7 separate regions of the Homo sapiens genome follow, and regions 1, 2, 3, 5, 6 and 7 are each linked to region 4. Evidence: promoter capture Hi-C in 16 types of primary human blood cells and fetal thymus (Javierre and others, 2016). All regions are on one chromosome and are shown on one strand. The core of a region is centred on a gene start or on the middle of the fragment in contact, and the rest is flanking DNA. Distances in the headings are between cores, read along the strand shown. Region 1 overlaps DIAPH3 (diaphanous related formin 3). Region 2 overlaps DIAPH3 (diaphanous related formin 3). Region 3 overlaps DIAPH3 (diaphanous related formin 3). Region 4 holds the start of DIAPH3 (diaphanous related formin 3). Region 5 overlaps DIAPH3 (diaphanous related formin 3). Region 6 overlaps DIAPH3 (diaphanous related formin 3). Region 7 overlaps DIAPH3 (diaphanous related formin 3).

Evidence for each region. Contacts are between HindIII fragments. The CHiCAGO score rates a contact against its expected background, and 5 or more counts as called.
Region 1: a contact is called between a fragment that was not itself captured here and the fragment with the promoter of DIAPH3 in region 4, in 1 of 17 cell types (M0 macrophages). The highest score is 5.4, in M0 macrophages.
Region 2: a contact is called between a fragment that was not itself captured here and the fragment with the promoter of DIAPH3 in region 4, in 1 of 17 cell types (erythroblasts). The highest score is 5.4, in erythroblasts.
Region 3: a contact is called between a fragment that was not itself captured here and the fragment with the promoter of DIAPH3 in region 4, in 1 of 17 cell types (M0 macrophages). The highest score is 6.0, in M0 macrophages.
Region 5: a fragment that was not itself captured here is called in contact with the fragment with the promoter of DIAPH3 in region 4 in 1 of 17 cell types (M2 macrophages); the score reaches 5.0 in M2 macrophages.
Region 6: a fragment that was not itself captured here is called in contact with the fragment with the promoter of DIAPH3 in region 4 in 2 of 17 cell types (M0 macrophages and erythroblasts); the score reaches 6.3 in M0 macrophages.
Region 7: a contact is called between a fragment that was not itself captured here and the fragment with the promoter of DIAPH3 in region 4, in 1 of 17 cell types (M1 macrophages). The highest score is 5.3, in M1 macrophages.

Annotation. Positions count from the first base shown.
Region 1 is chr13:59,792,663-59,796,253 of GRCh38, reverse strand. The region is part of intron 25 of DIAPH3 (diaphanous related formin 3); the gene reads left to right. Among named protein-coding and RNA genes, the nearest start is that of DIAPH3-AS1, 220 kb to the left of the region's middle. RefSeq lists an enhancer at 2,493-3,358. The HindIII fragment of the contact is 2,042 bases long and covers 1,111-3,152 here.
Region 2 is chr13:59,688,254-59,691,592 of GRCh38, reverse strand. The region is part of intron 27 of DIAPH3 (diaphanous related formin 3); the gene reads left to right. Among named protein-coding and RNA genes, the nearest start is that of DIAPH3-AS1, 320 kb to the left of the region's middle. The HindIII fragment of the contact is 2,220 bases long and covers 192-2,411 here.
Region 3 is chr13:59,736,512-59,739,639 of GRCh38, reverse strand. All of the region lies in intron 27 of DIAPH3 (diaphanous related formin 3), which reads left to right. Among named protein-coding and RNA genes, the nearest start is that of DIAPH3-AS1, 270 kb to the left of the region's middle. The HindIII fragment of the contact is 1,331 bases long and covers 693-2,023 here.
Region 4 is chr13:60,162,583-60,165,699 of GRCh38, reverse strand. It overlaps DIAPH3 (diaphanous related formin 3), which reads left to right and starts at 1,772. Exons shown (of 28, transcript NM_001042517.2): 1 at 1,772-2,113. The coding sequence starts at 1,934. It overlaps LOC105370227 (a long non-coding RNA gene), which reads right to left and starts at 1,643. Exons shown (of 2, transcript XR_942001.2): 1 at 1,501-1,643. RefSeq lists enhancers at 1-245, 1,334-1,383. The HindIII fragment of the contact is 7,568 bases long and covers 1-3,117 here.
Region 5 is chr13:59,707,922-59,711,079 of GRCh38, reverse strand. All of the region lies in intron 27 of DIAPH3 (diaphanous related formin 3), which reads left to right. Among named protein-coding and RNA genes, the nearest start is that of DIAPH3-AS1, 300 kb to the left of the region's middle. The HindIII fragment of the contact is 3,621 bases long and covers 1-3,158 here.
Region 6 is chr13:59,879,760-59,883,254 of GRCh38, reverse strand. The region is part of intron 20 of DIAPH3 (diaphanous related formin 3); the gene reads left to right. Among named protein-coding and RNA genes, the nearest start is that of DIAPH3-AS1, 130 kb to the left of the region's middle. The HindIII fragment of the contact is 220 bases long and covers 1,462-1,681 here.
Region 7 is chr13:59,814,910-59,818,234 of GRCh38, reverse strand. The region is part of intron 24 of DIAPH3 (diaphanous related formin 3); the gene reads left to right. Among named protein-coding and RNA genes, the nearest start is that of DIAPH3-AS1, 200 kb to the left of the region's middle. The HindIII fragment of the contact is 1,943 bases long and covers 814-2,756 here.

The DNA.
Region 1 (3,591 bases), core at 882-3,381, 370 kb after region 4:
TAACCTGGATAAAATCTTTATCCATAACAACTGTCATTAGAAATGACTAGCATTTCACTAATTAGCCCACCATTTACGCCCCATAAGCTTCTCACAGATGGTAAATGTTTATAAACACCCACAGATGTGTGCACAGCTGACTCTCAGTTATCCGCAGGAATAGGGGACATAGATAATTTAGATTCACTTACAATACAAACCCCTCATTTTAGCTAGTTTCAATCTTTTTTCTCCTTGGACTTTTTACCACAGCTGTTAATGAAGTAGCAAATTAACTAATCTAATTTCAACTTCTCCTCTTATTGATGCACTTACCCCCTGATGAAAGCACTAATATGTACAAATGTGGTCACAAGATGGCTGGCAAGCGGGTGGAAATGGTAAGCATGAGCTTAGAAAAATACATTGAGCAATGGAGAATATGTCTGTAACTGTTTGTCTAGTAACAAACTTTAAGTTGTGAAACCATAGCAAGCCACCCAGTTCAAGAATGACATACCTGGCCAGGCGCAGTGTTTCACGCCTGTAATCCCAGCACTTTGGGAGGCTGAGGCAGGTGGATCACGAGGTCAGGAGATCGAGACCATCTTAGCACGCACAGTGAAACCCTGTGTCTATTAAAAATAAAAAAAAATAGCCTGGAATGGTGGCGGCCACCTGTAGTCCCAGCTACTCAGGAGGCTGAGGCAGGAGAATGGTGTGAACCCGGAGGCGGAGCTCGCAGTGAGCTGAGATCACGCCACTGCACTCCAGCCTGGGCGGGAGAGCGAGACTCCATCTCAAAAAAAAAAAAAAAAAGAGAGAGAGAATGATATACCTAAATTCCCTGGGACAGAAGCATCTCCTTAAATTCAAGAGAAGGGAAAGGATGCCATTTTCCTTGGTGGCCAGGCCCTATAGTAATAATGATTTCTTTTCAGATAGTTCTTCCTGAAATTTAGTCTTAATTTTTCATTATATTATCAGCCTATCTACTGTCTCATGCTGAATGAAGATGAAGAAATATAAATATAATAACCCAGAGCACCATGAAGTCACTTTTTTGTCTTACTTCCTTTGGCCTGAAGAGTCTTGCGTCTTGTGCTTCTCGTACATTCTTAATCTGAAGCTTTCGTTCATTCTCCTTTGTGCAGTTGTCCAGGCAAATTTAAAGGCAATATTTGATGGAGCCCACACAGAGTGAGGAGATGTGTGGAGCTAACTGCGGCCCACAGGCCATTTACAGAATGAACTATGAAAGACAACCATTTTGTTTCCTAATGACCTACAAAGCATGTACTATGTCTTGCAGACTGAGGCATTCACAAGTTAATACAAATTGTTTTCCAGAGTTTCATTGCTTGAGGAACATGTCTTTCTTTCAGCTTATTGGGAAGGAAAATTAATCATTCCTAAACAGCATGTTAGAAATATTCCAAAATGTTTAAAGAAGAATATTTATACTAGGCTGGGCATGGTAGCTGGTTCCTGTAATCCCAGCACTTTGGGAGGCTGAGGTGGGAGGATCTCTTGAGGCCAGGAGTTTGAGACCAGTCTGGGCCACACAATGAGACCCTGCCTCGATAAAAATAAATAAATAAATGATATTTATAGTGGATTAGATAGTGATCAAAATTCGCATCAGAACTTGGACAGTAGAAGGATGTGGCATTGAAGAAAAAAATCTTGCACCACTGGCACTATCCAACAGATCTGTAACTTTTCAAATGAATGATACATTTTTTAATTTTTTTTTTTTCACTAAAGAAGATTTGAAATTGCTGACAGGCTATATAAGAATCCTATTGAATATTCCCCTAATAGGAAATGTAACTGGAAACTCAGTGCTTAGGGATACAGAAATCCTTCTATTATATTTACCTTCAACAGTTGTTAAAAAGGACTCATAGTGTTTTGACATGAGTAGGTGGTGCCATTCACTGAGATAAGGGACACAATAAGAGGTAGAGGTTTGGGGAAAATGGTAATTCAAGTTTGTATATACAGATGCACCTCAACTTTTGATGGGGTTATGTCCAGATAAACCCATCATAATTTGGAAATATTTTAAGTCAAAGCTGCATTTAATATACCTAAACCTACCAAACATCATAGCTTAGCCTAGCCTACCTAAAACATTCCAGAACACTTATAGTAGCCTACAGCTGGGCAAAATCATATAACACAGAACCTATTTTGTAATCAAGTATTGAATATCTCATGTAATTTATTGAATACAGACAATGGTTGTATGGGTAGTCAAGTACAGTTTCTGTTGAATGTGTATTGCTTTGCTTGATTGTAAAGTCAAAAAATTGTAAGTTGGGAACAGTCTGTATTATATTTGAGGTATCTCTAGGACATCCAGGTTACCATGTCTAGTGAGTAGGAAGGGGCTAGTATGACCAACACATCCCAGATTGCCTAATTCTCCCAGTTTTATCACTGAAAGTCCTGTGTTCCAGGAAACCCCTTAGTCTTGCAAGTCAGGATGGTTGGTCACCCTAGTTGGAACTCAGGAATAGCGCTTGTTGCTGGTGATAAAAACTTGGGAGTTTTCAGTAAATGAAGCCATGGAATGAATAAAACACCAATGGAAAATTCAAGGAATGGTGTAAGAATGAGCAGAGTAAGAAGATCCCAGAAGAGGACCTTGACAAGGGAGTCACATGAAAGTAGTAGGAAGACCAAGAAAGTCTGGTATCATGAAGCCCAAGGAAGAGACCATTTCAAAAAGGAATGGGTAGTCAACACAATCAAATACTGCTAAAGAATCATGTAATGAACTAACAGCCATCCCATTGACTTTAGCTCAAAGAATAGCGTAAAGAGTTAATGAATGAATATGGGAGATGAGACTGAGATATGAGTAAGAAAGGGTAGTAACTACAGGGGATTTAGAAGTCAAAGGGGAGGACAAAGCAGGTGTTTTAATTTGTTTAAATGCAGACTGGGAGGAATGAGAAAGGAGGGCAATTGGAAGAGAATGACAATCAATGGAGTAAACTTCTGAGGGCGGCAGGAGGGGTGGAGAACAACAAGATACTAGCACAGGTAGAGGAAATTGTCTTGGAAATCCACATGCTCTGCCATTGTGATAGATTGAAAGGAGGAAATGTTGGGCCTAAGTGCAGATACATTTGTAGGTTTGATGGTGGGAAGTTAAGGAAGCTTTCATCAAGTGGTTCCTGTTTTCTATCTAAAAGGAAGGCCTTTGCAGAGGAAGGGCCATGGTTGGTTGGGAGGCTTGAGTGAAGTGTGTAAGCATGTAAACCCTCTCAGGGAGTGGGAGAGCCTCCTGATGAAACACAGAGGAGTGCTGAATAGCATTAAGAATCCAATTGAGGTAGCAGTTGCACATATGTACTAGTTCAGATCCTGTGGTATTGTTTCTTACCGGCACTACTCAGCATCTGGAGTAATGCCAAGAAGATGGAGTTTGGGGCTTATTTACATTTTAGTGGGAGTCTGAAAAAGTAGGAGAATGAAGGAGGGAAGTAAGATACCAGCGTGTGAACCATGGTCAAAGTGATGCACCACAGAGTCTAAACTAGATAGTCAAGGATATGAAAACAGTGGTGCCAGGGCATTGGAGATTTTCATGGGTAGATG
Region 2 (3,339 bases), core at 52-2,551, 470 kb after region 4:
ATATTCCTTAATCATCATATGTTCACAGTGAGACCTTTTCTTGTGGTCAAAAAGATTATAATTTTGCTGATATAAAGCATATTAATTTAACAGAAGCAAGCATATGGAAATGGTTCAAATGTGCCAGGTTTTATTTTAACTACTGGTCTTTTACCATATTTCCTAAACACCTAGATATCAGTAAGTAAGCTTTTATAATCTTTGATCTGATCTCATAGTTCAGCAAAACATTGCTCAAGGTTGACAGTATGACCCATGGGGATAAAAAACAAGACTAATGATATGAGTAAGCAGAAATTCTTCTCTCTCATGCAGGGCAAGGGTCTGTGTAATTTTCTCAATCTAGTCATCCCCTTTCCTTTGGAAAATCCAAAAAGATAAGATAAGAAATTACTTAAATTTTTAATGACTAAAAAGCAACTGATAATTAACAGCCATCCTGCCTTCCTGTGTGTTGCTGCCATCATTCTCCCTAAACACCAGACCCTTTTACCTCCCAGCATTTTGTATTTGCTTCTTTTTCTACCCGCAATGCCCTACTATTCTTCTTTATTTGACAGACTCCTACTTACATGTCAAGACCCAACACAAATGTTACTTTCATAGTAAATCCCCTGGAGGTCTAGTTCCTCTGTCCTCTTTGCTTCTGCAGTATTTTTTCCCATAGCTCTATTTTAGCACTTATTTATAATTTATTTGTTTTAATAATTTGTTTCTCTCTGATAGATATGAGTGCCTCAAGGCCTAAGATCTTGTTCATCCTTGCATCCCTGGCCTCAGCACAATGGCTGGTAGATGCATAGTAGGCAATCCATTATTGTTTGCTTCAATTGCATGAATTAAGCAACCAATCACATGAAATGTCTGACCAACAATCTTCTACTTTGAAACCAGTGTATTCCCAAAGTTAATTTTTAAATCAGTTGTTTTGGAATTCACAAAGCAATTTCCCATAGAAAGAATGTTATAAATGGTGGTTAGGTTCCCAGGCTAGCCCTCAAGAGTCTATTTAACCCATAATGTAGCTGTAACACTATGCAGTTGTAATGAAAAATAGCAGAAAACAACACTGTTACAAATGTGCAATGTTTTCATTACATTAAGTAAATACAATTCCTCTTCTGTATAGAAAATGCAGTCTAGGGCAAATTATACCAACCAGCAAATGTAATATGATCTAGTGACAAGAGCAGGATGGCTGAACATAGGCCAAGCTCTTTCACTAATTTGCTTTATAAATTGTTTAACTTTACTATGCCTGAATTTCTGCATCTGTCCAGCCAACTTGGTAATTCTTGCCTGCTCATGCTGAAGAAAAGGTAAAGTAATGTATATAAGAATGCATTGAAACACATAAAGCCCTATAAAAATGCAGTGTATCATGGCATAAAGTGCTCACAGACAAATGAAATTAGACTGAATTTTGGACTTTTAATGGAGTGAAAAATAAAGGAGCAGAGTTGATGTTTCAACTTCAGTTGCCCAACCCCATCACCTGGAAGCTAGGTAACCATCATGTTATCCTTTCTTCACCATGAGCAAGTCGAAAACACATGAGTTAATATCTCTGGGCCTTGGTTTCCTCTTGGGTAAAGTGACATTGTGCAAATTAGATGACCTTCCAGTTCTTTTAATCTGGATGTCTGTGTTTAACATTATTTGGATAGAGTAGCAACTTTCATAGCATAAAAAAATGTCCTGGAAGGGTCATAATTATATGGTCTGAATTTCTTCAGTTTTCTGTGATCAGCTTACTTAAAGCATCACTTGCATAACATACATACACACACACACACACACACTGCTTAATACAGTTTTTTTTCTTAATCTGCCAAATCTGTCCGCCCTAAAACCAACTTGTCCCCCAACATCTGCCAAATCTTTCCACCCTAAAACCAATTTGTTCCCCACCGTCTGCCATCAAAATCAGCGTGGAAACCAACTTCTGTCAAATAATATCTCCATCCAAACCTGCAGAATAGCAGTCTTCTCGTTTCTTACTCAGAATTTTGCTTTCTTCCATGAAGAAGAAAGTTTTCCTTCATGATTTGCCTAAAAATTTCTCCTTGATTCTGGTGCACCAGATATATACTTGGGAAACTGTCTAATCAAATTTTATTCTCTATTAGGAGCCATCTGTTTGCTGATGACGACTCTGTTTGTTTTTTATTTTAGTGCAATCCATTTTCAATCCTTCATCGGTTTTATCATACCACCTGCACTTCCCATTTTCCCAGCTCATTCCTTCCTTCCTCTTGTGTGGGTGAAGAAGGAGACAGGGTGTGGACAGCAGGAGGCCGCCGTACTCCTAACAGAATACTTGAGGCTCAAATTCTTCTCTCTGACTGATTAGAATGCCTCTCTCCCCAGGTAGTCCAGGCCTTCTTTACTTTCTCCCCTGTATTTAAGCTTCCTCAGAAATCTTGTGGCCTTTCAGGAGACTTTCTTGCAGCAGAAGAAAGAAGGTGCTAAATTCTTGCAATCTTTAACTTTCTATAACAAGAGATTCACAATTATCTCTCCCTCAATCATTGCTTTCTTTCTGTGCCTGGGGATTGACTAGTACATAATAAAGATGAAACCCAGTCTACGTAGTTGATTGCTTTTTGGTGAAACTCTATTACATAAACATCTTCTATGTGAAATTTCCAACATAATTTGATACTAAAATGTTAGTATTAGTTAACCCATGTTATGTGAGTTTTTTTCATTGTCTTCATATATTCATCTGCATGAGTGTGGCCTGTCTTGAATCCTAACCATCCACTAAATGGGTACTTGGTAGCATTTTTAATAGATTTTTCCTTTACGTAAAGTTCCCTGCAAGTTGTTTCTGATGTATCTAATCCTATTGTTACTCAAAACTGAAATGAGACCCTGCCCTTATGAAGCATGATTTCACTTAAACTATCTCTAGGTGGACCTCACTCCACCAAAATTCTATTGTATTTATTATGTGCACAATTCATTTGACACTTGAGTGACACTAAAAATGAGTCAACATAAGCTCCTCTTTTGTCCCTGGTCCCTTTCAGACCAATGACAGTACCTTAAACTTCTTGGTGGTTCCTAGCTCTGTGTCTTATGCATATAGGTGCTCAATAAACATTTATGGATTCATTATTCATTTATGTTTGGACTTACTTGTGAGGTTGAAATGTTCAATTGATCCACTTTTTGACCTTTTCAGTTATTATTTTTTTGTCAGTGGTTTTGATTATTCAGGTGCACTTTTACCATCAATAGGTCATATCTATAAATAGAAGTCTAGAGACATTTTTAATATGTTTGGGGAAAGAATAAAGAAATTCAGATTTTAAAATTGCAGGTGAATATTGT
Region 3 (3,128 bases), core at 109-2,608, 430 kb after region 4:
TATTTAAAATCAATAAAATAAACATATTTAGTAGATGTCTGTGGTTACTAAATAAGTTCTATATGTAAAAGCAGTTCACAAAATGCCTGTTCCAGAGTAATACTGAAGTAGACCTGAATACCACAGTGACCATTGTACTTCTGATGCTACTAGCACCGGTGCTGTAATCATTAATACTCAAAAGGGTATTGTGAGGGCACATGTTGGTATTAGTATTCCCAATTAACAAATGAATACTTAGAGGAGTTAAGGCATCAGCTCACAGTGTTACATATGGAGTAAAAAATTTCTGACTCTTGTATTTGATGTGGTTTTTGTATTATACCATGCAGCCTCCAACAGTTCAGTATTAGGATGCCAAATACATTCAAGATTCGAACTGCAATTCAGTAGATGAAACGTAGTCAGTTTATTTTATACAGCACATTATTCTAAAGGATCACATTCTTAACAAAACGCAAATTCAAACCTTCAAATCCCTTTACTAATCCCTCTACTAACAGTTGTTAATTTTGATACTTTGGACCTAAGCACGAGGGATAGTTCTTAAGAAACATGATCAGGAGAGATGGGAGGCCAGTAAGGAGAGCGTTTAAATGTCAGCCCTGAAATGTTCTTAATACATATAATTGTATTGCTTCTATTCTGTAAAAAGAAAAATTCAAAAAGGGGGAAAAAAAGGAAGCAAAGCTTCCAAAAGTGAGAAAGCCATTGGTTGTAAACATAGTCAAGTTTTTATGGACAGATGATGTGTTAGGGAAAATATCTCAGTATACAAGGAGGCATATAGGTAAATATGTACAGTGGTCAAACTGACTTTTCAAAATTTGAAAAGATACATTTCAAGTCAGTCTGTAACTGTTACTGGAACAGATGCAGAAGTGACTTGATCTAAAGAATTCCCTTATGGGTGTTGCAAGCTGTTATGTGAAGGAGTAGATTTTTAAAGTGGTGCCACTTAAAGATACCTTCATGGATTAGTGGGATTATAGGTTTTCATCAGTTGAGGAATATATTCCCTTGTGCATATCCTCTTTTTAGTAGTCTTAGTATTTGACAGTAGGGTAAATCCGTCTTGGTGGGGGCCTGCCTGTCATAACAGCCCCTCCCTTCTCCAGTACAAGGAGGGAGAAGAAAGCTAAAGGAGTAAGACAGTTCTTAAGCAATTTAGGTACTGCTTTAGCAAGTTGGCATGCCTTGGGTCTGGCCAGTCCACAGAGCTCGCTGTTTCCCTGGAGGCTCCTCTGCTGAGCTTTTTCTACTCCTACAGCCAGCCACTCCTGATCCCACTCATTCCCCATTCACCCCCACCCTCTTGCCTCTGTGGTCCCCTTGCTTTGGCAGGCCACCTTCTTGAGCAGGATCTCTACTAAGATGACCCCAGGCCGTTGTTGTCATGGGCACCAGTTCTGGTCAAAGAATTCTAGATATCAGGTAATTGTTTATTTTAATTTATTTTGTTTTTTATTTTTTGAGATGGATTCTCTCTCTGTCGCCCAGGCTGGAGTGCAGTGGCGTGATCTCAGCTCACTGCAGCCTCCCTTCACCAGGTTCACGCAATTCTCCTGCCTCAGCCTCTCAAGTAGCTAGGATTACAGGTGCCCACCACCATGCCAGGCTAATTTTTGTATTTTTAGTAAAGACAGATTTTCATCATCTTGGCCAGGCTGGTCTCGAACTCCTGACTTCAACTGATGCACCCACCTCGGCCTCCCAAAGTGCTGGGATTATAGCCATGAGCCACTGTGCCCGGCCTAATTTTATATTTTAAATGAAGAAGATAGGCCTTGTATATTTCTGAGGATGGCAACTAAACTTAGAATGTATTTGAAGATAAGAGTTTGCGTAGAATGAGCAACTACTATAATGGCCAGTGTTTTGTTGTATAGGTTAATTCATTTGGAATTCAGAATAACCTTTTTGAGGTAAATCCACTTTTACAGATGAGCAAAAGGTGAGGTTAAGAGAGTAAGTTACTCCAGGCCTTACAGCTCTTTACCTAAATCAAGATTTACATCAAGCTTTATAAGTCCACGTATGTTGGGGTTTGGAGCTAGTAAAATTATTGCTGCCTTACTCACTATGATACTATCTTTTTTATACTCTGAGGCTGACATAAAACTTCCCTGGTTTTATGCTGATTTTGTTTAACAATAGTCCCAATGCCTAAGTTTTGTTCATATTTCTATGTCTGATGCTTAGCTTAACATAGAATACATAGTAGATTCTCAATAAATGGTGAATAAATGATAATGAGTATGCAAAGAATATAGGCATTAAAATTAGGCAGAACTGTTCATATCCTTTGCCCACTTTTTAATGGCGTTGTTTATTTTTTCTTTTGTAAATTTAATTTCCTTATAGATGCTGGATATTAGACCTTTTTCAAATGCATAGTTTGCAAATGTTTTCTCCCATTTTGTAGGTTGTCTGTTTACTCTGTTGATAGTTTCTTTGGCTGTGCAGAAGCTCTTTAGTTTAATTAGATTCCATTTGTCAATTGTTTTTGTTGCAGTTGCTTTTGGCACCTTCGTCATGAAATCTTTGCCTGTGCTTATGTCCTGAATGGTATTGCCTAGGTTGTCTTCCAGGGTTTTTATGGTTTTCGTTTTTACATTTAACTCCTTAGTCCATCTCGTGTTAATTTTTATATATAGTTTAAGGAAGGGGTCCAGTTTCAATTTTCTGCATATGGCTAGCTACTTATCCCATCACCATTTATTGAATAGGGAATTCTTTTCCCGTTGCTTGTTTTTGTCAGGTTTATCAAAGATCAGATAGTTGTAGGTGTGCAGTCTTATTTCTCTATCCTGTTGCTTCAGTCCGTGTCTCTGTTTTGTACCAGTACTATGCAGTTTTGGTTACTGTGGCCCTGTTGTATAGTTTGAAGTTGGCTAGCGTGATGCTTCCAAGCTTTGTTCTTTTTTGCTTAGGATTGCCTTGACTATTTGGGCTCTTTTTGAGTTCCACATGAATTTTAAATTTTTGTTTCTAGTTCTGTGAAGAATGTCAATGGTAGTAATGGGAATAGCATTGAATCTATTTTTTGCTTTGGGTAATATGGCCATTTTAATGACACTTCTCAAAAGAAGACATACATGCAGCCAACGAACATGTAAGTCTCAAAA
Region 4 (3,117 bases), core at 523-3,022:
AAAAGCCAATTAGATCTTTAATTTGTTTTGTCTTTCAAAATCAAACATTCCCCTCTCTCCATGATATGGATGACTAATGCTTGTCAGTTACAGCTTTAGGCTTGTCTTTTAGCCTGCCATCCTCCTAGATAAGATAATCACTGAACTGTCTCCACTTCCTGAAGGCACTTAATCTTGAGCAACCCTTCCCACCTCTTTCCACGGAGTCTTTCCCAAATCACCTAATCAAAGCCCAAATCCTTTAAGTGCTTTCTAATACCATTTACCTAAGACACTTCATGGCTCCCCATAGTGCATGTTCTCCCTCCCTGAGTAATAATCCCAACTTCTTCAACTACAGTATTCCTGTAGGAGCATTGACAAAACTCTAAGGGCTTTACATATGCTATGTTATTTAGGCCTGAAAATGCCCCTCTTTCATAGGTATTAGTATAATTACCCCCCTTTTGTAGATGAAGCAGCAAAGAAAGTTAAACGTCATCTCCGGTATCAAATAGCTAGTAAATGGCAGGAATAAAATCTGTATCTGGGTCTGTCATCAAGATATAAGGAACTACTTGTAGTTCTCCTGACCTTGCTGTTCTCCTGTAAGTTTCCCTAAAGATTATGTGCTCTTTGAGGACAGAGCTGTAGAGTCTGGCACAGTAAAACAAATATTAAAAAAGAAAAGCTGTAGTGTGAAGACTTACTGAGAACTAAGGCTCATTTTTTGAACCTCTGTGCCAAACTCCTCAGAGTACCTAGAGTTGTTTCTTGTACCAAAATCAATACTGCATGTTTCCGAGTCTTGGCCTACACCACCTCCATATAATCAGAAGACAGATATCTTAAAGGAATAGTTCCAAGGAAAAGCTCATTTTTAAAGAGGGTATATTGATGTGTTGAGAAAACGGTGTTTGCCTTGTAGCTTGACCTTGGGTTTACACAACAAACTCTTTTGCATGGTTTCAGTTCAAGGCCCTTTGTTATGTGACCTTAAAGTTTCTTCACCTCTATGCTTTCTTGGCCTTGCTCCTGCCTGGAATGGAATGCCTTTTAAATGAATGCCCTGCCACTGTTTCCTGCCTAGTGAAAACCTATGCAGCTTTCCTTTTACCTTTCCAGATCCACTCCTTCAGATTTAATAACTTCCCTTTTTGTTCTCAAGGAACTTCTAAAACAACTGCTATAGACATTTACATTCCTTGGTTAATTGTGTTAGGGTTTGGAAACTACAGGAGACTGTGAGCTCCTGAAGGGCTCAGCCTAGCCTAGCTCTGTCTGATTTTGGGTGGACCCCTCTGCCACCCCAGAGCGAGCACTTAGGCAGGAAATATGTCCAGAAGGCTTCCTTTTGGAGCGTCGTGGGCCCCGTCGTTTCATCCTGCCTAGTACCCCTTCCAGCACCGTACCCAGTCCCAGAACTACTTTTTCCAGCCCCAGACGTGCAAGGAGAGGGCTAGCAGATGGTTTTATATCCCAGCGCTGCTCAAATGGTGGCGCAGGGCCTGTCTCGCCCACCTTCCAGTTCTGCTGGAACCCTATCTGCAAATCCAAAGAAATCCAGGCCGATGACTTCCTCCACGGTCCCCGGCGCTTCTCCAAATCTGACGCCACTCTGCGTCCTTAAGGTGAGCGGCCTGGACCGCCGGAAGGGTTGAGCGGCTGCATAGACAGGCCGCAAGGCCAATCATGTTTCGCAGTGCCCGGAAGGGGCGGTGCCTCAGCGTGTCATTGATCCGGCGGCGCGGGATTGGCCAGTCCCGGGCCAACACGGGTGGCGGGAGTTTTCAGATGTGTTGGCTGCGGCCCCGACTTCAGCGGTTGGGCTAGGCTGTGCTGACTGTTTGGGTGGCGGACCCCGGGAGTAAAACCTGTTGTCGATCCCTCAGCTTCCAGCTTGCGGCTTGCTGAGTGGCCACCTTCTTTCCGGTCCCCGGAGCTGCGGGGAAAGATGGAACGGCACCAGCCGCGGCTGCACCACCCGGCCCAAGGCTCAGCCGCTGGGACTCCCTACCCTTCCTCAGCCTCTCTCCGCGGCTGCCGGGAAAGCAAGATGCCGCGCAGGAAGGGCCCCCAACACCCTCCGCCGCCCAGTGGCCCCGAGGAGCCTGGGGAGAAGCGCCCCAAGTTTGTGAGTATCGCCTGGAGCTAGGGTGGGGCCGCTCCCGCCCCGCCGTAGGGCTGACTGCCGAGGGTGGGCCCACAAGAACTTGGGGACCAAGTTTTATTCTAGAGATCCAGAGGTGCCAAAGATCATAGATTGACAACGACCGGGTCTAGTTGTAGTTGGATCCTGTGACAAATGCCCAGATCTTTGTGTTGCCCCCAAATTTCTTAACGCTGATGTGAAAAGCAGTTCAAACGTGTATATGTATTGACGTCATCTAGGTGGACATTGCATTTTTTAAGTCGAAGTTCTCCCTTCCTCCCTAGTGTAAGAGGGTATAAGATATATCAAAATGAACTTTTAGGTGACAGGTTTTTTTTCTGCTTATTATTTTAATAAGAACTTTTAATTACATATAAGAACTTTTAAGGTAGATATAATTTTCCAAGTTGAAACAGCTAGTTTTAGAACTTGGCGGGTGGTGTGGTCACTGCTAAAGAATGTTTTGCTTAGCTTGGAAAGAATTCTAAATATTTGAAACTTGCTATTCTGGTTTGCTTGTGTTTAACACTTAAGGAAAGTGTCATGATTAACACCTTGTCTTTTCGTTGGTGTCAACTAGTGAAAGTATAGGCAGTGATGATTATTTTGGGGTTTGTGTGTGTAAATAAATCACATAGAGGGTTGATAGATTTGGGATGAGTCCAACAGAATTGAAATTTCACATTGACCACTCCACCATTTTCCTTAGGAATATGGAAAAACTGTGTGTGTGTGTGTGTGTGTGTGTGTGTGTGTGTGAGAGAGAGAGAGAGAGAGAGAGAGAGTACAGCATTTGCCTTATGTGGGCAAGTAAAAATTGTGAGAAATTTAAGTCATGATTCACAAATTAAGGGAATAATGGTTTGTGAACCAGTTGCTAACTATAACATTTAGTTAAAAATAATAGTTGAATAAGACTGAGAGCCCATATTCTGATACATGAGATATATCAGAATACTGAAAATGAGAAACAGCATAGATTAATT
Region 5 (3,158 bases), core at 364-2,863, 450 kb after region 4:
ATTTAAGGGTGGAAAGTCTATATTAAAATGACAAGAACAGTGCTCACTTGCATGTACTTTAAAGAGCAAGGTAAAGCCTCGCTTCTTGGCCAGGGTGCATTATAGTCATTCAGTTACATCCTCTGAGTGTTTTTGTCTTTTTGACAGAAGAAACTCATCTCAAAGTATTGTTTTGTTCTGTATAATAAATTGTGTTGCTTAAAAACTTTCAAGCTGAACTCAGAGCTCTGTGAATTTTTTTTAACTTGTTTATTTGAATAGCTTTTGTGAATAAACCTGTTCTGAAAAAGGAGGTAGTAAAACAGTTTAAGAAATTAATACAAAGGCAGTAATAGCCAACATTTGTTGAAAAGGCCTGATACTCTGCTAGGATATTTACGTATATTATCTCACTTAATCACAACAATGTTAAGATGAGAGCCAGCACAGCATTATCTTCTGTTTACAAATAAATGAAGACTCAGATTTTCCCAGGCTCACACAACTGGCAACCCAGTCTGTTGCCAGAGCCATTTTTAACCAGATTGTTAATTGAGCAAGTTCTTTATTATTCCTTCTCCCTTGATTGTTTAACAATAAGAGAGATGAGTCACCATTTTATTAAAATATCCCTAATCTACTCCCATATTTTAAATGGCATGTCTTTTTCAGCTTTATAATTTGTTGTGCCATTTTTTAACTAACTTTAAATGTAGAGAGTACATTTGAAATAATCAAAATGAAGTTGTTGGGGTTTTTTTTTAAGATCTTTGCAGATATACCATGGTATTACTTTTTAGCACTTTTCTTTTTTTTTTTTCCAAAATAAATTTTTATTTTTTGTTATTTATTATTATTATACTTTAAGTTTTAGGGTACATGTGCACAATGTGCAGGTTAGTTACATATGTATACATGTGCCATGCTGGTGCGCTGCACCCACTAACTCGTCATCTAGCATTAGGTATATCTCCCAATGCTATCCCTCCCCCTTACCCCCACCCCACAACAGTCCCCAGAGTGTGATGTTCCCCTTCCTGTGTCCATGTGTTCTCATTGTTCAATTCCCACCTATGAGTGAGAATATGCAGTGTTTCGTTTTTTGTTCTTGCGATAGTTTACTGAGAATGATGATTTCCAATTTCATCCATGTCCCTACAAAGGACATGAACTCATCATTTTTTATGGCTGCATAGTATTCCATGGTGTATATGTGCCACATTTTCTTAATCCAGTCTATCATTGTTGGACATTTGGGTTGGTTCCAAGTCTTTGCTATTGTGAATAATGCCACAGTAAACATACACGTGCATGTGTCTTTATAGCAGCATGATTTATAGTCCTTTGGGTATATACCCAGTAATGGGATGGCTGGGTCAAATGGTATTTCTAGTTCTAGATCCCTGAGGAATCGCCACACTGCCTTCCACAACGGTTGAACTAGTTTACAGTCCCACTAACAGTGTAAAAGTGTTCCTATTTCTCCACATCCTCTCCAGCACCTGTTGTTTGCTGACTTTTTAATGATTGCCATTCTAACTGGTGTGAGATGGTATCTCATTGTGATTTTGATTTGCATTTCTCTGATGGCCAGTGATGGTGAGCATTTTTTCATGTGTTTTTTGGCTGCATAAATGTCTTCTTTTGAGAAGTGTCTGTTCATGTCCTTCGCCACCTTTTTGATGGGGTTGTTTGTTTTTTTCTTGTAAATTTGTTTGAGTTCATTGTAGATTCTGGATATTAGCCCTTTGTCAGATGAGTAGGTTGCGAAAATTTTCTCCCATTTTGTAGGTTGCCTGTTCGCTCTGATGGTAGTGTCTTTTACTTTTTAGCCCTTTTCTATCTTAGCTGTAGCCAATCTGTTGTTTTGAAAAAAGACCAACTTAATAAAAGTAAATCATGTTAAACTAATGATTCTATAAAATTACAGGCTCACCCAGAAATAAAAGTTATTCATCTGAAAGAATACAAAAGATTATGTATTCATTTAAAAACTTTTTCTCAGGTATGATTTTGTTCCAAATGGGCATAGATCTGCATTTTTTACAGATTTTAAAGAGTTTATATGTGTCTGAAAGTAGTTATCTCTACGTGTTGAGAGGACAGGTGATTTTTAAGTTTCTTTATTCATCTTTATAGTCCTGATACCTGGTAACTTTTTAAAAAATTATACATGGGAATAAAGGTCTTTTGGTAAAGGATTTTTAGTCTATAAGGTCTTTTTAAAATCCAGAATAAATAGCATGTTTTTAAAATATATTTATTATTATTATAAAAGCAATATGTCTTATTTAAAGCATTCAGAAAATGCATTCCAGAGACAGGTCAGAGCTGTGAAAATATAAATTGGGGGATTGCCAGTAGGTAAATGGTATTTAAACAATATGACTGGAGTAGATTGCTTTGAAATTAAGTGTAGATATGAGAGTTAATGTATTCAAGGACAGCCCTGGAACATACGGACATTTGGGGCTCAGGAGGAAGGGCGGAAACACAAAACACTGAGATGGAAAACCAAGCAAGGGTGAAGTCCTGGAAGCCAAAGGAAGAAAGAATTTCAGGTAGCAGAGAGTGACAACTGTGTCCCGTCTGCTGAGAAATCAAGTAAGGTCAGAGTTGTAAAACGACCATTGGATTTGGTAATGTGGAGGCTACTGTGACTTCAAGAAGAAGGGGAATTTTAGTGCAGTGGTAGGGACAAATATCTGATTGGAATGAGTTCAAGAGAGAGTAAGAGAAATTAGAAACTGCGATTGTAGGTAACTCTTTCAAGGGAGTTTGCTATAAAAGGAAAGAGAGGATGAGGCTGGAGGTTCAAGACTAGCCTGGGCAATATAGTGAGACTCCATCTCTAAAACGTTTTTTTTTTAATTAGCCTGGCATGGTGGCTCTCACCTGTTGTCTCAGCTACTTGGGAGGCTGAGGCAGGAGGATCGCTTGAGCCCCTGAGTTCAAGACTACAGTGAGCTATGGTGATGCTGCTGCACACCAGCTTGGGTGACAGAGCCAGATGCTGTCTCTAAAAAAATAATAAAATGAAAGGAAGGAAAGAAATGAATTAGTAGTTTGAAGAGGAATTAGGATCAAGGGAAGGGTTTTTTGTTTTTTTTTTTTTAAAGATGAGAGAAATAGTATGTTTGTTTGCTGGAGAGAATAATGAAATGAAGTGGGGAGAAATT
Region 6 (3,495 bases), core at 322-2,821, 280 kb after region 4:
CATAATGAGATTTTGAGAGATTACATCTTCCTGGGGACCTTTCTGACTTTATACTCCTTAAGACAGGCAGAAAGAATTCAACGATAAGGGCTACAGGGGCAGCTGCTATGGCTCCTGTGCCCCTCACAGCACTGAATGGGGCCCAGTCAATACTTGTTAGTTCATTGATTTTTCTAAAGGTCTTTTTACGTTGTTCCCTCTCTAACAACATATATTGCCAACAAACAAAATTTTGAAATAAAATTACCCTTAGGGTTCTGGATATTGCTTCTTGATTTTTACCAGTCACTGCTTTTAACATCTCTTCATTCTGACATATGACATCTGTGTGTGGGGGGGTTACAGGAGTACTGCTCCCTGCCTTCAGGAAAAACAGGAGTGAAATCAATGTATTTTTCCTTTTTTGGATTGATCTTCAGATTACATCTCATTATTGTCAGATTTGGGTTTCGTGAATTTATATTGCCAAGACTTTGTAACAATAGATTTAAAGGATAACTGTAAAAATGAAATTCTAATTTCTTCTAGCATTCTAATTATTAACTAGCTTACATTTTATGTTTATTGTTCATTTACCCTTTCCTTTTTCTCATTTTTAAAAATGACTTTCTGTTGCCATTCAGAGTATTATTTGAGCACCATAGTTCATTTCTGCCTTCCACTTAGTCTTAGACAAGTCAGAAGTTTAGTTTTCTTAGCAGGAAAACAGAATGCAAATCCCCAGTGTTGATAGAATATGAGAAGTGGTGAGGATGCGGAAACATTGGTCGGGCTTTTTACATATACATATATTTTCCCCCTTCTTAACCCTTTTTATTTGATTCCACCTGAAGAAATAAAGTTTGATTCAAATAATGAGGAAAAGGGCTGGGCGCAGTGGCTCATGCTTGTAATCCCAGCACTTTGGGAAGCCCAAGTGGGTGGATCACTTGAGGTCAGAAGTTAGAGACCAGCCTGAACAACATGGTGAAACACTGTCTCTACTAAAAATACAAAAAATTAGCCGGGCGTGGTGGCTCATGGCTGTAATCCCAGCCACTCAAGAGGCCGAGGCAGGAGAATTGCTTGAACCCAGGAGGTAGAGGTTGCAGTGAGCTGAGATTGTGCCACTGCACTCCAGCCTGGGTGACAGAGTGAGACTCTGCCTCAAAAAAAGAAAAGTAACCCTTCTGTTATTATCATAGATTCCATGATTTAGATCTTGGAACATTAACCTTAAATGATATTTTGTTGTTAAATAAAAAGGGCAACCATTTGGCCTAGGGGTCATCATATGACTAAATAGTGAACTAAAGACAGGCACCTTCTCCAGGTGACCTTTCAAGTTCTTTTCCCACTCAATAATTTTATTTATTAAAACACATTTACTCAATAATAGTCAAATACTGATTTATCTAAACTTGGAAGAAAGAACAATAGGAAAAGGACATCTAATTTTTTTTTTAAGTGTTGTTCAAAGCTTTGTTTTTAGGTTACATTTCCTGACTTTGCCTTGTCAGGGATTTTCATGAACTTGTAGCACTTTGTTCTGCATTACATCATAGACTTACTCTATCTTTTCAAGGTACCTGTCCCTAGTGCCAGATACACTCATTATTCATACAAATCTAGGTTATATTTTTCTAGGAGAATTAATTACTCTATGCTGGCTACATATGGTTAGCTTGTCAGCAGGAAAGCTTTAACATATTTTGGGGTGGTATAATGTAGGCATTTAAGCAGTCTCTTTTTTCTTCTGTGCATGAATGTAGTAGTACATTAATATATGTTAGAATTAATATATTTCGTAATACAAATGTTTTGCATAGAATACTGGAGAATTTCTTCTCATATGTATTGCAAGTACCTGGCTTCATAATCATGAATAATGGCACTTACTGAAAACAGCGATGCTATGAGCCCATTATACACCTTCAGAATGGCCATAACTACAGGTACTACATGTGAGTGCTCTTTTGTATGTCTGACTGCTCTAAAGGACATATTAAGTGTAATAGAGCATTATTCATGTTACCAGTGTCATATGAACATCTTCCTTTTGCAATGGTTAAGGATAAAAAAAATCCAGGTAAGTGAACCCATCTGTCTTAAAATATAATATATTTTAAGACAAATGTCTTTGTGATAAGTGATCACTGCTTAAAAAGAACAATTCATGCCCAATAAGAATCAACATTATAATAGTACATCTTTGTCTCTTTATAATTTCATATCGCTTAAACTTACTCTATAAACTTAATGATATTTCTTCTTCTTCTTTTTTTTTTTTTTTTTTTGGTCCTTGTTGAACTTACATTCTTTGTTTTTCCTAGACAGTGGAATATGAAGACGTTCCTTAAAGTGCCTTGTAAAGTAGACTTCTTATTAATAACTACATTAATTGAGCCCTTAGAATCTTGATTGTATATGAATAACCATTTAATTTGGCAAGGGTCTGGGGAGAAAGCTAAGTATAAATTAGATATTTATATTATTTGAAAATGGAACTTTTCATTCACTATAGGGCTTTGGTCTATATGAAAATATTCTCTCAGAGTTGTGTACAAAGAACTAATTCTTTATTGCTCAATTTTTGTCAGATGAGTAAGCTGAGTTATGTTTAGTCATTAAGGCAGTGTCTATAATATATTGGAGTCTTATAAGCCTTTGTCTAGTATATTTTAAGTAACGGTCATTATTATATTATGAGCTGATAGCTTTCTGTATCCCAAACAATCATGATTTTCATTATATTTGGCATCCTACAGGCTTCATATAGCATTGTTTTTTAGCCTTTCCTTTACAGTCTGTGACTAAGGGAGAAACAGTCCCTATTTTAATCTGTCACTGCTTTTTTTCTGACCTTGCCTTAACCTGCTTTTGATATTTACAATAGTTGTTGAAGTTCAACAATTTTACTATTACCGCCCCTTCAGTGCGTTTTAAGTCCCAAATCCCTAGTGTGTTTGGTCAAGGAATTCATATCTAGCTTCATATGTGGTATGTCTTCAGCCTACAGCTAAGTGATTATTTCCTGCATGTGTGTTGATATAACACAGGAGTAAGGATAAAGGCAGGAACTTGCCCCTTTGTTCTTTTAGACACCTCCAGTCCCCCACATTCCCAGTAGAGAAACCTAGAGTCCCAGACAGGGTTAACTTGGCATGTGATAGATTTGTGGGTTTGCACCGCTTCTGCCTGCTACTACTCCCATGTTTCCTAACTCTGATTCTGCTAATTTAGTATGTGTCAGGAGTCATTCTACTTTCCTGTGTTTCTGAAGAAAGTCAATTTAGTACAAATTGGGACCTATTTACTCTCCCTCTATCTAACACATACTGTTAGTCAGCAGGGTTTCTGAGGACAGCAATTGCTATTTGAAGAAAACAAACCCTCTTTAGACTTTTCTGAATGTGTTTTAAACATGACCCAGTATATTGCAGTATTGAACAAAAATTATTCAAAATAATGACATGAATGCCTTGTAATTTGTGGCCTATGTATCTTGTTACCTTT
Region 7 (3,325 bases), core at 536-3,035, 350 kb after region 4:
ACTGGAAAACTTTTTCTTAAATAGCCAGATAGTAAATATTTCAGGTTTGCAGGCAATACAGTCTCTGTGGCAACTCTCGTGTAACAGTGCAAAAGCAGCCATATCCAATATGTAAATAAACGGCTGTGGCTATGTACCAGTAAAACTTTGTTTACAAAATACGTGGTCAATCTAAGGATTATAGTTCGATAGCCTCTGCTCTAAAGGTTGTATTTAAAGAAGCAACAAAAAACAGATTGAGAGACAGGAAGCCATAGGTACTATGAAAACAAATGTAAAGAAAGTACACAATAAAACAATGTTACATAAATTTATAAATTGAGTGAGAGAGATTTAGAATTTGGGTTTTCTTTATTTTAGTCAAGGGAGAAAGGGAGATACAGATATTAATTAACTTTAGGTCTTGTTAAGTTGCTAAAAATTTATTTGTGTAATAAAAATACAAGGATAACCAGTGAAAGGATAGAAATATCAAGTATAAATTCTAAACTGTAGTGAGAGAAATAGACTAAGAAGGATACACCAAAAAAAATCAGGAAAAATAAAGGCATAACTAAAGCTAGACAAATAGATGGAAACAAACATTTTATAAATCACAATAAATTTTTTAAAGGACTGTAATATCGTATAAAAAATAAAATCTGGTTTTATGCTGTTTATAAGAGACCTCCCTTTACCCTATGGATATAGAAATGTTTGAAGTAACAGGACAGTTAATGAAATACAAGGCAACTATTAATCAGAAGAAAGGGAAACTATGTTAATAGGTACAATTGACTCAAGACATTAATTACTTCATGACAACAAAAAGCTTAATTCACGTGAAAGATACAACAATTTAAAAATGGTATGTGCCTAATAACATAGCCCCAAAATGACATTGTAAAAATTAATAAACTATATCGATAAGTTGACAGATTTAGGATTATGTTAGGAAATGTCAACAAAGTTCTTTAACTTACTGATAAGCAGAAAAATATCATTAAAGACAAGCGTTAAACAATTAACAGACTTGATTTGATTAGTGTATATAGAATTCAAACTCGATAATTAAAGAATACACATTTTTTCATGCACAAGTTGAACTTTTATAAAATTGGTTACATACTAGAGACCATGAAATCTCAATACATTTTTCAGTGCCAGTTTTATTTATTTATTGACCACAATGACATGAAATTAGAAATAAAATTAAAAGGATGAAATTTTAAAACCTCTAGTTTGAAAATTCTAAAAACACATTTAAAAAGTCATATGTCAAAGATGAAATCATAGAAAACAGTTATACCTGAACAATATTGAAAATACCCCACATTAGACTTTGCTGGATGCAGTAAAAATGGTATAAATTTATACCATATGTGCTTAAGAGAATAAGTCAAATGTTCCTACATATATAAAAGATAAATATTTAAGGTTATGGATATTCCAATTACCGTGATTTGATCTTTACACATTATATAAAAGTATCAGATTATCATATGTACCCCCAAAATATGTACATGTATTATGTATCAATAAAATAACTTTTATCAGAAAGACTTAAAAACATCTGACTTCAGAAATTTAAAAAGGATTTATATGATCCTAGAGAAACCAGAAGGAGGGATATGAAAGATTAAATGAAAGAAAAAGTGACATAAAAGGCAAAAATGAGGTTATTCTGAAAAGACAAGTTAATTAGATATATTGCTAAAAAGATTAATCAAGAAAAAGAGAAGATAAATAATATTGAGGATATAAAAAGGAACATAACTAAAGATACAGAAAATAGTAAAAAGAGAGGAGCTTTCTGTAAAAATTTGTAGGATAGTATTGGAAAAGGTAAATGAAATGGATAAGTTCCTAGACAAAAATAACTTACTGAAATTACTTTAAAAGAAATAGAAAGCATGAATAGTTCTATAACTAATTTTGATTTTAATGACTTTTAATCTTTGAAATAAATACTTGGCCTAGAAGTTTTTCAGATACATTTTACCAAATTTTAATGAAATGATTATCTCAAACAAATGGAATACAAAAATGTATTTTATGACTAAATGTTCAAAAAGATAAATTCTTCCTGTCCAAATTGAGTTTATCCTAGAAGTGAAAGTATGGCTTAATATTAGAATATTCATAAATATAATTCACTATATTGAGTCTAATGGGAAAAAAAATTGTGAAATTTCTCTCAGTCAAGTCAGAAAATCCTATTCAGATTTCAAAACAAGAACCATGAACTAATTTAACCCTCCACCCTACTCCAAAGTAGGAAAGGAGTCAAAGGAAACCCTTTAACCTAATACTTAGAATCTAACTCCTAGTCAGTATAGCAAGATAAGACAAGTAGGAGTTGAAAATGTAAAGATTGAAAAGGGAGAAAATCAAGCTGACATTATAGCACTCTATGAATAGCAAAAACAAATCCTATAGGAAAACTATCAGAAATAATAAGAAAAATTATCAGTAGCATATATAAAAATTACATTTTTTAGGCTGGGTGTGGTGGCTCATCCCTGTAATCCCAGCGCATTGGGAGGCTACGGTGAGAGGATCACTTGAACCCAGGATTTCAAGACCAGCTTAGACAATATTATCAAGACCCCCATCTCTACAAAAAGTAAAAATTACATTTTTATATGTTACAAAACAATAGAAATCATTGTTTTTGAAGAAGGCACCATTTACAATAGCAAAAGAAATGTATAGAGAGTAAATCTAACAAAAATGTCCAAGACCTGAATGGAGAAAATGAGTTTTTTTCTAAAGCTTTTTTTAAAGATCCAAGTTAATAAAAAGCCACATGCTGTTCACAGAAGACTCAAAATTGTGAAGATATCAATTAAAAATGCTTATAGTCCTTTTCAATGAAACTTAACAAGTCTATTCTAAAATACAGATGGAAGAGCAAAGGCCCAAGGATACAGAAGGCATTCCTAAGTAAGAAAAATAAGATGTAAGCCTTAATAATTAAAATAGAGTATTATTCTTAGAGACATGGTTATATTGATCAAATGGACTAAAACAGCCATAAAATGAAGCAACACACATGTGCTAATTGAAATCCAAAAGAAGTGACTTTGCATATTATTGGAGAAAGGATGGGCAAAAGTGAATTGGATCTCCAACTCATACTGTTCAAAAATGTTGATTCCAACAATGAATGAATGGATTTTTAAAATGTGGTTCATATACACAATGGAATACTATTCAGACTTAAATGAAAAAATGGAAATTCTGTCATTTGCAACAACATAGATGAAACCAGAAGACATTATATTAAGTGAAATAAGCCATTCACTGAGAGACAAATACCATAATATGATCTCACTTACGTGTG